3 separate regions of the Homo sapiens genome follow, and all the other regions are linked to region 2. Evidence: promoter capture Hi-C in human tissues and cell types (Jung and others, 2019). All regions are on one chromosome and are shown on one strand. The core of a region is centred on a gene start or on the middle of the fragment in contact, and the rest is flanking DNA. Distances in the headings are between cores, read along the strand shown. Region 1 holds the start of LOC124903854 (a long non-coding RNA gene). Region 2 holds the start of CLCNKB (chloride voltage-gated channel Kb). Region 3 holds the start of AGMAT (agmatinase (putative)).

The links. Contacts are between HindIII fragments. The study calls those that stand out against the background at their distance.
Region 1: a fragment that was not itself captured here is called in contact with the fragment with the promoter of CLCNKB in region 2 in 1 of the 25 tissues and cell types used here (spleen).
Region 3: a contact is called between the fragment with the promoter of AGMAT here and the fragment with the promoter of CLCNKB in region 2, in 1 of the 25 tissues and cell types used here (spleen).

Annotation. Positions count from the first base shown.
Region 1 is chr1:15,599,517-15,604,394 of GRCh38, forward strand. It overlaps LOC124903854 (a long non-coding RNA gene), which reads right to left and starts at 4,027. Exons shown (of 3, transcript XR_007065483.1): 1 at 3,573-4,027. The HindIII fragment of the contact is 5,748 bases long and covers 1-4,878 here.
Region 2 is chr1:16,041,017-16,045,337 of GRCh38, forward strand. It overlaps CLCNKB (chloride voltage-gated channel Kb), which reads left to right and starts at 2,766. Exons shown (of 20, transcript NM_000085.5): 1 at 2,766-2,864; 2 at 3,470-3,576. The coding sequence starts at 3,477. The HindIII fragment of the contact is 23,589 bases long and covers 1-4,321 here.
Region 3 is chr1:15,583,302-15,587,708 of GRCh38, forward strand. It overlaps AGMAT (agmatinase (putative)), which reads right to left and starts at 1,750. Exons shown (of 7, transcript NM_024758.5): 1 at 1,395-1,750; 2 at 1-94. The coding sequence starts at 1,666. RefSeq lists an enhancer at 1,243-1,292 and a silencer at 1,403-1,732. The HindIII fragment of the contact is 10,612 bases long and covers 1-4,407 here.

The DNA of each region.
Region 1 (4,878 bases), core at 1,505-4,004, 440 kb before region 2:
GTTCAGGATACATATGTAAGAAAACTACACAAGGCTGGGGAAAGAACCACGTAAAAGGATTACTACAGCGATTCCTAACCTTTTTGGAGTTTCGGGATGAAACTCTTCCACCTCAGTTCATCAGACGTTCGTTAGATTCTCATAAGGAGTGGGCAACCTAGATCCCTCACGTGCACAGTTCACAATAGGGTTTGTGCTGCTATGAGAATGGAATACTGCTGCTGATCTGACTGGAGACAGAACTCAGGCAGTAATGCTCGCTCGCCTGCCACTCACCTCCTGCTATGCGGCCCGGCTCTTAACAGACCACCAACTGGTACTAGTCCGCGGCCTGGAGACTGGGACCCCTGGATTAGAAGGAATAGTGCCTACTCCTATGATCCAGATTGGAAAAACTCGTAATGTGTGGGGCATTGGAAAGAGTACTTATGAAGGTCTTGCCTCAGGGGAATAATTAGCCCTAGAGTTGGCATTGCTCTGGTCCTGCCTAACAAATCTTTTTTTTTTTTTTTTTTTTTTGAGACACAGTCTCACTCTGTTGTCCAGGCTGGAGTGCAGTGGCATGATGTCCGCTCACTGCAACCTCCACCTCCGGGATTCAAGTGATTCTCCTGCCTCAGCCTCCCGAGTAGCTGGGATTACAGGCATGTGCCTCCACGCCCAGCTCATTTTGTAATTTTAGTAGAGATGGGGTTTCTCCATGTTGGTCAGGCTGGTCTTGAACTTCCGACCTCAGGTGATTCGCCTGCCTTGGCCTCCCAAAGTGCTGGGATTACCGGCGTGAGCCACAACGCCCAGCAGTTAAAGACTTTCTAACAACAAAAAGCTTAATACTTTTTTTTTTTCTTTTGAGATGGAGTCTCTCTGTCGCCCAGGCTGGAGTTCAGTGGCGCAATCTCGGCTCACTGCAACATCTGCCGCCCAGGTTCATGCGATTCTCCTGCCTCAGCCTCCCGAGTAGCTAGGATTACAGGTGCCTGCCACTGTGCCCAGCTAATTTTTGTCGTTTTTATTAGAGATGGGGTTTCACCATCTTGGCCAGGCTGTTCTTGAACTCCTGACCTCGTGATCCACCTGCCTTGACCAGCCAAAGTGCTGGGATTACAGGCGTGAGCTACCGTGTCGCTGGATACTTTTTTTTTTTTCGAGATGGAGTTTTGCTCTTGTGGCCCAAGCTGGAGTGCAGTGGTGCCATCTTGGCTCACTGCAAACCCCGCCTCGTGGGTTCAAGCAATTCTCCTGCCTCAGCCTCCCGAGAAGTTGGGATTACAGGCGCCCACCACCATGCCTGGCTAATTTTTGTATTTTTAGTAGAGATGGGGTTTCACCATGTTGGCCAGGCTGGTCTCAAACTGCTGACCTCAGGTGATCCCCCCGCCTCGGCCTCCCAAGTGCTGGGATTACAGGCTCGAGCTACCACACCCAGCCAGCTTGATATTTTTAAGCCCATTATTTCCAATATTGTGAATTCTCAGATTTTCAAGTAATAAAATAAGCAAAATGAATCCTTAATAAAAATTCTATCTTGGCAACGCTATTTGTCATTTCCATCCTATGACTTTCTCTTCATATGTAACTGAAATTTCATAAATATTAAGAAATTGTTGTTTGGGCATAAGAATCAGATATGGAAAGGAGGCAATTGTGCTATTAACCGTGTCACTTAGGGCTACTGCTATTTGAGGCGTGCATCACACCAGCAGAATCATATACACCTGGGAGCTTGTCAGAACTGCAGAAATTCTCAGGACCTGCTCCAGACCTAATGAATCAGAATATACAGTTTAACAAGGTTCCTGGCCGGGCGCGGTGGCTCACGCCTGTAATCCCAGCACTATGGGAGGCCGAGGGGGGTGGATCACGAGGTCAGGAGTTCAAGACCAGCCTGGCCAAGGTGGTGAAACCCCGTCTCTACTAAAAATACAAAAATTAGCCGGGCGTGGTGGTGTGCGCCTGAAATCCCAGCTACTCAGGAGGCTGAGGCAGGAGAATTGCTTGAACCCGGGGGGCAGAGGTTGCAGTGAGCCAAGATCGCACCACTGCACTCCAGCGTGGGTGACAGAGTGAGACTCCGTCTTAAAAAAACAAAAGATTGCTAAGTGGTTACTACACACATTTGAGAAGCACTGGCCCTCTCCATGCAATACATTGAGCAAATACAGTCACATGTCACATGATCTTTAGTCAACAACAGACTGCATATAAGACAGTGGTTCCATCAGATTACAATATTGTATTTTTATTGTACCATTTTTAGTGTACCCTTTCTATGTTTAGATACAAAAATACCAACCATTGTGTTACAATTGCCTACAGTATACAGTACAGTAACATGCTGTAGAGATTTGTAGCGTAGGAGCAGTAGGCTGTATCATATAGCCTAGGTGTGCAGTAGGCTATACTATCTAGGTTTGCGTAAGTACACTCTATGGGCAGGACTCAGTGGCTCATGCCTGTAATTCCAACACTTTAGAAGGTCAAGGCAGGAAGACTGCTTGAGCCCAGAAGTTGGAGACCAGACTGGGCAACAGAGGGAGAAACCCTGTCTATACAAAAAAAATTAAAATTAGCCGGCTGTGGTCTAGACATGGTAGCTCAGGCCTGTAATCCCAGCACTTTGGGGGGCTGAGGCAGGTGGATTGCTTGAGACCAGGAGTTCGAGACCAGCCTGAGAAACATAGCAAGACCCTTTCTCTATAAAAAGAAAATTAAAATATACAAAAATATATAATTTAATTTTAAAAAATTAGTCTGGCATGGTGATGCAGGCCTGCAGTCCCAGCTACTCAGGAGGCTGAGGCAGAAGTATCACAGCAGATCGAGGTTGCAGCGAGCTGTCATGGCACCACTGCACTGCAGCCTGAGCGACACAGCAAGACCCTGTCTCAAAAACAAAACAAACAAACAAAAAAACTCTATGATATTCCAATGATAGATTCACCTAAGATGCATTTCTCATATCTCTGTTAAACAATGCATGACTATAATTTCTCCGGTCATGTTTCCTTATGTCTGAAAACAAAGGGCACTGAAACCTGTTTGTTCACTTTAGTTCACAGGCTGATTAGAAAAGTAAGTAAAATCCAATCCAAATATAAATTAAATACACGTGAAATACCAAACCCTCTAGTAAACAGCGAGCTACATACAAGTCCCAGACACTCCACGACCGTTTCTAGATTGAAAATCCTAGGCCAGGCGCAGTGGCTCACACCTGTAATTCCAGCACTTTGGGAGGCCGAGGTGGGTGGATCACGAGGTCAGGAGTTCAAGACTAGCCTGGCCAAGATGGTGAAACCCCGTCTCTACTAAAAAAAAAAAAAAAAAAAAAAAAAAAAAAAAAAAATTAGCTAGGCGTGGTGGTGGGCGCCTGTAATCCCAGCTACTGGGAGACTGAGGCAGAGAACCCGGGAGGCAGAGGTTGCAGTGAGCCGAGACCGCGCCACTGCACTCCAACCTGGGCGACAGAGCGAGACTCCATTTCAAAAAAAAAAAAAAAAGAATATTTAAGTCTTTTCACTTCTGGGAATACACACACACACACACATATATATTTAATCGAAACACGTTACCTTTCACTCAACAACTATTCAAGACAGAAACCATTTCGGGTAAGCAGACTCCTACAGGGTCCCTACTGCACATTTCTCATCGGTGGTCAAAGCAACAAAACGTGAACTAAGCCACAGGGTAGCTGCAGGAAGCTCTATGCCTGGGACCACTACAGGCAGGCACTAGTTTCCCTGTCCACCACTGCCCGAAATGGAGTCGGGCCCGGTTCTCCTGAGCTGAGCAGGCCAAAGCAGGGAGTCCGTGAGTGGACCGGGCATAGCCAGAGCGACGCCGCAGCACCCCAGCCGCAGGGTCAGCCCCAAAAGCAGCAGGGCCCGCTTGATCGCGGATGCCGGGACGCCCTCGTGCAAGCCTCGAAGGGGGGCTGCCACCCCGAACATTCGCCAGAACGAAAGCGGCAGCCAGGAGAAGCCCTCGCAGGTGCTGTAGGGATCCAAGCGCTTGAGCTGAGTCCGAAACTCGCACAGCAACCTCGGGAGGATAAACTCCAGCAACCAGAATCGGGTTGGCGTCGCCTAGCAACCAGGAGCCAAATGCGCGGACGCCAGGCATTGGCCTGCACGTGTCACGTGAGCCAGCGCCGCTGCCCAGTGGGAGATTACGCCGCAGGCACGTGATGCGGCGCAACCGCCCTTTGGCAGAGCTTTTCGCGAAGGCAGTTGTGGCTCTGAGCGCATAGGCGAGGCATTCCTGGGGTTTGCGCCGTATCCTTTTACAAAGTCCTGGCTTTGGCTGGTGCGACCAAAGAAAGGAAACCGGCGCTTGAGACTTGTCTGGGCTGGCTATGGTGAAGCAGTGAAACGGTGCAGAATTGTGTCAATGAGGCTAGTTCAGTTGTGCAAGAGCATTTCCTCAAAGTAAGACAGAAGCTTTTAGTTACGTCAACACCTGCTAATGTTAGGCTGGCCAGAAATTTCCTGACAAATAATGGGTGAAGGTCGGGCGTGTGGTCGCTCATGCCTGTAATCTCAGCGCTTTGGGATCACTTGAGGTCAGGAGTTCGAGACCAGCTTGGCCAACTAGGCGAAACCCCATCTCTACTGAAAGTACAAAAATTAGCCGTGTGTGGTGGCGCGCATCTGTAATCCCAGCTACTCTGGAGGCTGAGGCAGGACAATCGCTTGAACCCAGGAGGCAGAGGTTGCAGTGAGCTGAGATCACGCCACTTAAAAGAAACGAAACTTTGCTGGTGACCATGTGGTGATGAAACTGAGCGTTTTGGAGCGCAGCAAGGTGACTCCCCATGTAATTAGTATAGACAGAGAGTTTGTGCTCTAAAGGTTAGAAATAAATGTTTTCGGCCTG
Region 2 (4,321 bases), core at 1,516-4,015:
ACCTCTGCCTCCCGGGTTCAAGCGATTCTCCTGCCTCAGTCTCCCAAGTAGCTGGGATTACAGGTGTGCGCCACCTTACCCAGCTAATTTTTGTATTTATGGTAGAGACAGGGCTTCGCCAAGTTGGCCAGGCTGGTCTCGAGCTCCTGGCCTCAGGTGATCTGCTGGCCTGGGCCTCCCAAAGCGCTGGGATTACAGGCACTGTGCCTGGCTCCGCATCTCCTGTCTTTTCAGATCCTTGTCATGACCACTGTTTCCCTCCAGCGTTCCTCTGCTCCCTTCTCATTGGATGTGCAGAAGTCTGTGTCAGCCCCAGCCTCTCGGGATGACCTTAGCAGGCGTCTCTTCCTCCCCGACCTCTGTCCCGTGCTTGGTGGGTCCTCAGCCCACAGGCCAGTACACCTAGGCTGGCACCCCAAGGCACCCGGCATGGAGTGGCCAAGTGAAGGGGAAGGGACCTGGTCACTGAGGAAACACTCAGATCCCCTCCACCTGGAGCTGGGCCCAGCCAGAGACTGCCTAGAACCTTTGGGGTTTCTGGAGCCACCCTCAGACTCTGGGAGCCTGGTGTTCCTAAGGAACCCCCAGCACTCCTCACTCTTCAAACTCCCTTCCCCTCTCACTGAAGACAGTGGGACCAGGTAAGGCATGGGAAGGGGCTGTGGGGGTGAGCTGGTAAGGCCTCTGTCTTGGGAAGGGGTGGGAGATGGGGGGTCTGCTAGCTCCCCAGCTGTCCCCACAGTTCCTCTGGGAAGCCAGGAATAACCAGAGCCTCCCTCCCCTCCTAGGCACCTGGCAGTGGGGGTGTAACCATTGGAATAAAAGCAGGGCAGGGGACCCTGCTTCATGTCACCTGCCAGGATGCAAAGTAGTGTGGGGACTCAGTGACCTCTGAATGTGGGTTCTCTGTACCGCCCCGCTCCCACCCATACCTGCCCTGTCTCTTTCAGCGTGCCCTGTCCCCCATCCCGTCCTCAGCTGCTCTGAGGCGAGGGGGCTGTGCAGGTCCTGGGCACCCGACCCCCACTGTCATGAGACAGAGACCCAGGTCTCAGGCTCAGCTCATTTGACAGAGGAGGAAAACAGAGGCTCCGGATGGTGATGGTGTTAGGGTCACAGAGCCGCCCTGGGTTCTCCCCTGCTGTCTCTCTACTGAGCCCCCGCTACTGCTGCCAGGCGACTAATATGGAAGGGGAGAAATTAGGGCTGATGTGGAGGCAGTGGGTTTGGGAGGGACCTGCATTGGGTCCTGCGCCCCCTGGCTGCCCTCTTCTCAGCCTCCTGGGGCACACAGGGCTGGGGGGTGAGGGTGGATGTGGACATGCAGTGCCGGCTGTGGGACAGTAGCCAGCAGCTGCCCCAGACCAGACACTGGGGATCCGGATGTTGACAGGGCAGCCAGTTCTGGTGCTGTGCAGAGTCAACAGGTCAGGGTGGCCAAGATGAAGGTGGGCTCGGGTTCATGCAGAGCGGCAACCCCCATCCCACCTCCCACAACACACACCTTCAATTTTGATTTGACTTGCCTGGCATCTAGGGGCAAAGGGTGGCCCAGGGTCCCAGATTTTAACAATCATCCAAGGGCCATCATGTTATTCAGAGAGTGGCTTTGTCTGGGTAGGACTGGAGGCAATTGCCCCCAACATCTTGCCCCAAAGTGGCATCAGACACAACTCTTCTGTTCTGTGCCCAAACCATTGCCCTGGTTCAGCCTCAGGAGCTGGAGGAGCTTTGGGCAGGGGAAGAGCTGCACAGTGTGGGGCTGGGTTCAGCCTCTGCTGTGTGACCTTGGATGAGTGACTCACCTCTCTGACCATCTACAAAATGGCGAGGCTCTCCCCATTCACAGGGTGTGGGGAGGAGGACTTGAGCTGCGGATGTGACGCTTCTGACACGTTGCAGGCACACGGCACGTGCTTGTTCCTCGCCATGTCCCCTCACACCTGTGCTGCCATCCTCTGTTGGGGTGGGACAAACTCTGTGGAATTACCCAGAAGTCCCCACCAGAGCCGCTGGCCCTTGGACGTGTGCTTTGAGAGGCATTTCCTGAGCCTGGAGGGTCTGGACACAGGATCAAGTCTGAGTTCCTGACCCCAATTCACTGCCTTGCCCCAGGTGTCGGCCTCCTCGCCAGCCCTGGACAAGATGGGTCATCAGGATGGGACCGTGTGGCACAGCCTGCGGGCTTTGGAGCCAGGCAAACCTGGGCTGGGAATCCTGGCGCTGCCTCGGCCTCCGTGATCTTAGACGGGCAGCCCCACCTCCCTGAGACACCATTTCTCTACAACGGGATCACGCTGCCTGCCTCGTGGGATTTCCGTGGGCACTCAGGGTAATTAATCTAGGGGAAGGCTGACTCTCTACCTGGCACACAGGGAGGCTGTGGTCATGCTGGCCCCACTCACCTTTGCCGGCCTGCTTTCTCCTTCTCTGCCCAGCCTCCTCCCCTCTCCCTCTGTGCTTTTCCAAACCTTCCATGTCCAGCTCTGAGACCCCTGGACCCTGAGCCTCAGCCTTGGCAGATGACCCCTCTCTGTCCTGCTGTGTGCGTGAGCTCCCCCTTCCCAGCCCCCGTCCAGCAGCACCCAGGAGCCTGAGTACAGCTGGGCACCACCCTCTGTGCAGCTATGGTGGGTGGGGAGGCTCCTGTTCCCCTCCCTGTTGGCAGCTCTGCTCTGCTCTGCTCCGGCCTGGGCAGTTCTGATCGGTTTTCAAGGACATTCTAAGTGTTCGCCATAAACCCTGGGCCCAGGCGGGAAAGGGGGGAGGATGTTGATTGTTGGAACACACACCTGTCCAGGTGCAGGGGAGCTGGAGGCTCTGTGAGAGGAGGGCCAGCTCAGCCACAGCAGGAGGACTGACAGGTGAGGGGTCGCTGCAAGATGCTGGGGCCTGCCAGGGCCAGACAGGCAGGGCGGGGGGGGGGGGGTGGTAAGGGCAGGAGCCAGCACCTCACTTTGGCCCTGGTGGGATCTTCTTCTGGGCCTGGGGTTTTGCTGCCTCTGTGGCCTGAGCTGGGGTCAGGGGTGCTCATAGGTGGACAGGGAGAGTCAGAGCCATCCATGGGACTCTGCAGTGAGAGTGTCACAGCCCTGGGCAGAGACTGCTCCCAGCAGTGGAAGCGCCAAGTGACCCAGGAGGGTGGGAGCGGCTGCCACCGAAGGGGAAGGGGCTCTGAGCAGGGCTTGGGCTCCGGCCTGTGCCCAGTCTGCTGCTGGACACAGGGGGACACCTAGGAATCCCACCCCCATCCCACACAATGACACACACAGGCACACACCCTCAGTGACGGAAACTCAGGGATGAAGGCACACACAGACCTAGTGTGATAACTTCACATACACACACACACACACACACACGCACAATCTTTCCTCTTCATGGGTGGGGAGAGCACTGGAAGGGCCTAGAGGCAGTGCGAGGACGTGCAGCAGCTCACCGCGGTCCCTCCCTCTATCCGCTTCTCCAGGGGCCTGATGGAGGAGTTTGTGGGGCTGCGTGAAGGCTCCTCAGGGAACCCTGTGACTCTGCAGGAGCTGTGGGGCCCCTGTCCCCGCATCCGCCGAGGCATCCGAGGTGAGAGCCAGGTCCTCTTCCCTTCCCCCTGGAGGACCACTCAGGACATCATTCCTGCCCAGCTCCCACCCCACCTCCCTGCCCAGGAACCACCCTCCTCCTGGCATTTGTCCAGGACATGACTGCCCAAAGTCTCCTGGGTGGCAGGGAGGGAAGGGGTCTGTCTGTCCAGCTGTCTGTGGGTCAGATGGGCCGGGCATCTGCCCTCTGCCTTTCGGGAGATACAGCCCAAGGCCTGGTCACTGTGCCCATCTTCCACCCAGGCCTCTCCCTCACCTACCTGTGCCAATGAGGGGACGTGGGGGTTAGCTGCTGGGACAGCTGGGGCCACAGCAAGGGGCTGGGGCAGCCTACACTTGGCACCTTTCCTTGGAGCCCCATGTGCTTTGTTCACTTTGAGACCTGACTGTCCCCTCAGCTACGGGGCAGAGCAAGTAGGGACCACAGAAGGAGGCTGACTGCAACCCCAGGGGCTGGTGCCCACAGCCAGTGAGGGCCAGCTCCCAGGCTGGGCTAGCAGCCAGTGGGCCAGGAGCATTGCTGGGGACCCAGAGGATACCTGGCGCCACAGGTCCTGGGACACGCAGGAGTCTGCTAGATCCTGGTGCTCTCTAAGCTATGGACTCTGCGGGGATGCAGGTGAAAGCTGTAGCTGCCAGCCCCCTCCATACTCCCTGTCCCCCAGGAACCTCCCAGTACAGGCAGGGATGCGGAGGGTCGGCAGGTCAACGGCTTTCTGGTAGGG
Region 3 (4,407 bases), core at 500-2,999, 460 kb before region 2:
TGCAACCATGAGGGACTGGAAGGGGAGGGCCCCCGTGCTAGGATTGACTGTCCCAAGCATCACTGATTCTTCCCGGATGCGGCGAGGTCCGAATCTGCAGAAGGAAGAATCATCCTGTCAGCCATCATCTGCAGAGATTTCAGGCTTTGCTTAGGCCAGGGCTTCTCAGCCTCAGCAATTTGGGGCCAGATGATTCCGTGTCGCGGCATTGCATAATGGAATGCTTAGCAGCATCCCGGCCTGTACTCACTAGGTGCCAGTAGCACCCTTCCTCCAAGGTGTAACAACCCAAAACGCCTCCAGATACTGCCAAATGTCCCCGGAGTGCAAAACCGCCCCACTTGAGAATCACCGATCTAGGCTATGTATCGAAGAGACTAAATAAGTGTACTAAATGGCATTAGTGAATTTCATGATCTACCTGAGTCTCAGTTTCCTAATTTGTAAAATATTTACCTTGCACTGTAGTAAAAATTAAATGAGGTAATCTATGCAAAGCACCTTGCACTTAGGAGACATTTAATAAGTGCTGGCTTTCATAATTCAGATCAGTACGGTCAGATATAGTGTTGCTGAGCTGAATCAGAAATTGCTGACGTTCAATAACTAGGAAGATGAATTTTGCTTCCTCCGACTTGATCCTAGGAAAATTGCCTTCATTTGAGCATTTCTTGAGTCAGGTGACATCTTCAGATTTGGGGAAGGGGCAGCCAGTTTCTGCTCTCAAATGCAATGTCACCTGCCACTGTAAGCTGGGGAGAGGAGAGGGGAGGAATCCACAGCAGCCATCCCAGCAAGGCCCCAGGATGGGGACACAGAGAAGGTTCAGGCTCCAGAATCCCTTCTTTTTTCTTTTTTTGAGACGGAGTCTCACTCTGTTGCCCAGGCTGGAGCGCAGTGGCGCAATCTCAGCTCACTGCAACCTCCGTCTCCCGGGTTCAAGCGATTCTCCTGCCTCAGCCTCCCGAGTAGCTGGGATTACAGGCCCGCGCCACCATGCCCGGCTTTTTTTTTCTTTTTTTTGTACCTTTGTAGAGACAGAGTTTCACCATGTTGGTCAGGATGGTCTCGAACTCCTGACCTCGTGATCCGCCCGCCTCAGCCTCCCAAAGTGCTGGGATTACAGGCATGAGCCACCGGGCCGGCCAAAATCCCTTCTTGACCAATGATGACACTAAGATGTGGGAGGCCACGCCCATGTTGAGCCCTGGGGTTTGCTTATTGAGGGTCCAGGTAAATCAACCATCTCAAACCATAAGGGGCATTTTGGAGCCGGCCACCAGCTTCCAACTCGACCCGGGGCCAGCAGGGGCGCCTGTCTCGGTGCTTTCCATGCCCGACAGCCAGCAAGCAGTCCCTCCACGTGTACCCGGCCCCCGTCCTTCCGGCCTTACCTCGCCCCAGGCCGGTTGGAGGTCCCAGTATCCAGGGGCACCCCGATGAAGGCAGCGTCCAGCCCCTCGGGGGAGGTCTGCACCGGCAGGCGCATCATGGAGCAGACGCCCACCGGCCGGGCCACGAACTCGGGGCTGGGGGGCTGGTTCCGGGGCGCGTCGGAAGCCTGGCGGCTCTGGCGGCGCCCCGGATGAAAGAGCCCTGCGGCAGGACGCGCGCCCACGCCGGGCCCCGGGCCCCGGGCGCACCCGGACGCCAGCAGCCTCAGCATTGCCGCGCGCGGCCAAGACCTCACCGACCAAACCGCCCGCGAGGCCGCCGCGATCTGGCTGGTCCCGAACGGCGAGGCGAGTGTGCACGCGCCAGAGCCGGAACCCGAGCCGGCTCAAAGGTCAGGGGCGCCCTAGGATCAAGGCGGGGGAGGGGCCCCAGGACCTGCCGTGCTCTCCCCTCAACCCCTCTGGACTTCAGCCTCTGGCAAATAGAGTCAGGCTGGGGGTGCCCACTGGCCGGCACTGTGCCAGGGGTGTCTGCGCCCTGCTCCCCACTGTGGCCTTCAGCAGCCTCTTCTCCCATTCAGAGTAATTGTTTGTTTTTATAGAGACGGTCTCACTGTGTTGCCCAGACTGGTCTCCAACTTCTGGACTCAAGTGATTCTCCCACCTTGGCCTCCCAAAGTGCTGGGATTACAGGTGTGAGCCACAGCAGCCACCCCAGAGTAATATTTTTAAAGCCAGAAAGATATGAAGGAAAATGATCTTTCTCTAAGCCAGAAAAATAGGAAATGCATTTTTTTAAATAATGTATTTTTAAATGTCCAGGGATAGGAATCTCAAGAAGCAGTAAAGTTAGTTAGCTACTTAGCTAGCTAGCTAGTTATTTTGAGACAGGGTCTTGCTGTGTTGCTCAGGCTGGAGTGCAGTGGCACAATCATAGCTCACTGCAGCCTCAAACTGCTGGGCTCAAGCAATCGTCTCACCTCAGCCTCCCGAGTAGTTGGGACTACAAGCGTGAGCCATCGCGCCTGGCCAGTAAAGTCTTTTTAAATAACCTTGTTAAAAAAGGACTAGAGGCCAGGGGCGGTGGCTCACGCCTGTAATCCCAGCACTTTGGGAGGCTGAGGCGGGCGGATCACGAGGTCAGGAGATCGAGACCATCCTGGCTAACACGGTGAAACCCCATCTCTACTAAAAGTACAAAAATTTAGCCGGGCATGGTGGCAGGTGCCTGTAGTCCCAGCTACTTGGGAGGCTGAGGCAGGAGAATGGCATGAACCCGGGAGGCGGAGCTTGCAGTGAGCTGAGATCAGGCCACTGCACTCCAGCCTGGGCAACAGAGCAAGACTCCGTCTCAAAAATAAATAAATAAATAAATAAATAAATAAATAAATAAATAAAGGACTTACAGGCAAGCTGTAAGGAAGGTCACAGTGCCAGAGAACCTGTTACATCCTCTTTATTTCTAAGGGGAAAGAAAAACACACGTGGAAAGAAAGAAGTGATTTGTAATGGAATTATGTGAGCCATTTAGCAGTATTATATATATTATTTTTTCTGATCTCTAAATGTTGAGATTGAATGGAAAAGGCTCACATTTGCATTTACGTTGCAACCTCTACACAAAGGTTGCACATTAGGCCAGGCGCGGTGGCTCACACCTGTAATCCCAGCACTTTGGGAGGCCGAGGTGGGCGGATCATGAGGTCAGGAGATGAGACCATCTTGGCTAACATGGTGAAACCCCATCTCTACTAAAAATACAAAAAATTAGCCAGGCGTGGTGGTGGGCACCTGTAGTACCAGCTACTCGGGAGCCTGAGGCGGGAGAATGACGTGAACCCGGGAGGGTGGAGTTTGCAGTGAGCCAAGATCGCGCCACTGCACTCCAGCCTGGGCAACACAGCAAGACTCTGTCAAAAAAAAAAAAAAAGGTTGCACATTAAACCCCACACCACTCCAGCCTCCACTCTGGAGTGGAGCCTCCACTCTGCAGGTCGGGACAGAGTTTCCTAATGGTCAATTATCAGTGCTTAGTGTTGGCCTTGGGGCAGGTCCCAGCCATTTTCTGGAACAAATGCAACAATCTCTCAGTTATTTTTTCCTTTTTTTCTCCCTTATGCCACTTAAAGGGTCTCAGTTATTCTCTTGACTCCCAAATTCAACTGCTATTTCTTTCATGTTGCTTGTCCTGAATGTATCATGTTCTTACTCCGGGTTTTTCTTTCATTCAGCTCACAAATATTGAGTGTCCGCTATGTGCCAGGCGTTCCAATGAGGTGTCCCCAACATCCACTACTGCTGAGCACCCTCTCTCCTTGAAACGTTCCTCAGGCGGCCTCTTGACTGGGACTCCCCTGGTCTCCTTCCACCTTCGTGGCTCCTTCTCGGCTGGCAATCCCTTTTAATACGGAGGTGATGACTTTCACCCATAGGCAGGTCAACCACAAGCCCAAATCCCAGCCCTGAGCTCCAGGCGACCAATTTCTAACCCTGACCTGGATGCTTGACAGCACCTGGGGTGGGCTGCAAGTTCAGCCAGCGACTTTCCACCTCCCTGTCTCTGATCCTGCTCTACGCCCCCAAATTTAAGAAGTCCTGATGGTTTCCTGCCCCCAAGCCTTCTGCTCATTTCCTCTGCTGTTACTCTGGTCCAGGCCTTCCCACCCCAGCTTTCCAGCTGATCTCACTCTCACTAGTATCACCATACATATGCCTGCCCGGTAATGCTTCCTGGAGCCAATTCTTCCTGTGTTTCCCCTTCTGCAGCTCCACGGGCTTGTTCCTCCAGCCCATGGTCAGCTGCCTCAGCCCCCACTTTCTTGCCTCCTTTCCTTTGTTCATGCTTTTCTGTCTGCCTGCAGTGCTCCACCCCAGCCCTCAGCTCCACATGTCCAATGTTCAGTAGAAGCCCACCCTCAAAAGACCCTGAACTTTTTTTTTTTTTAAGGGAGATAGAAGTCTCGCTCTGTCATGAAGGCTGTGGTGCTGTGGTACAGTCATAGCTCACTGCAGC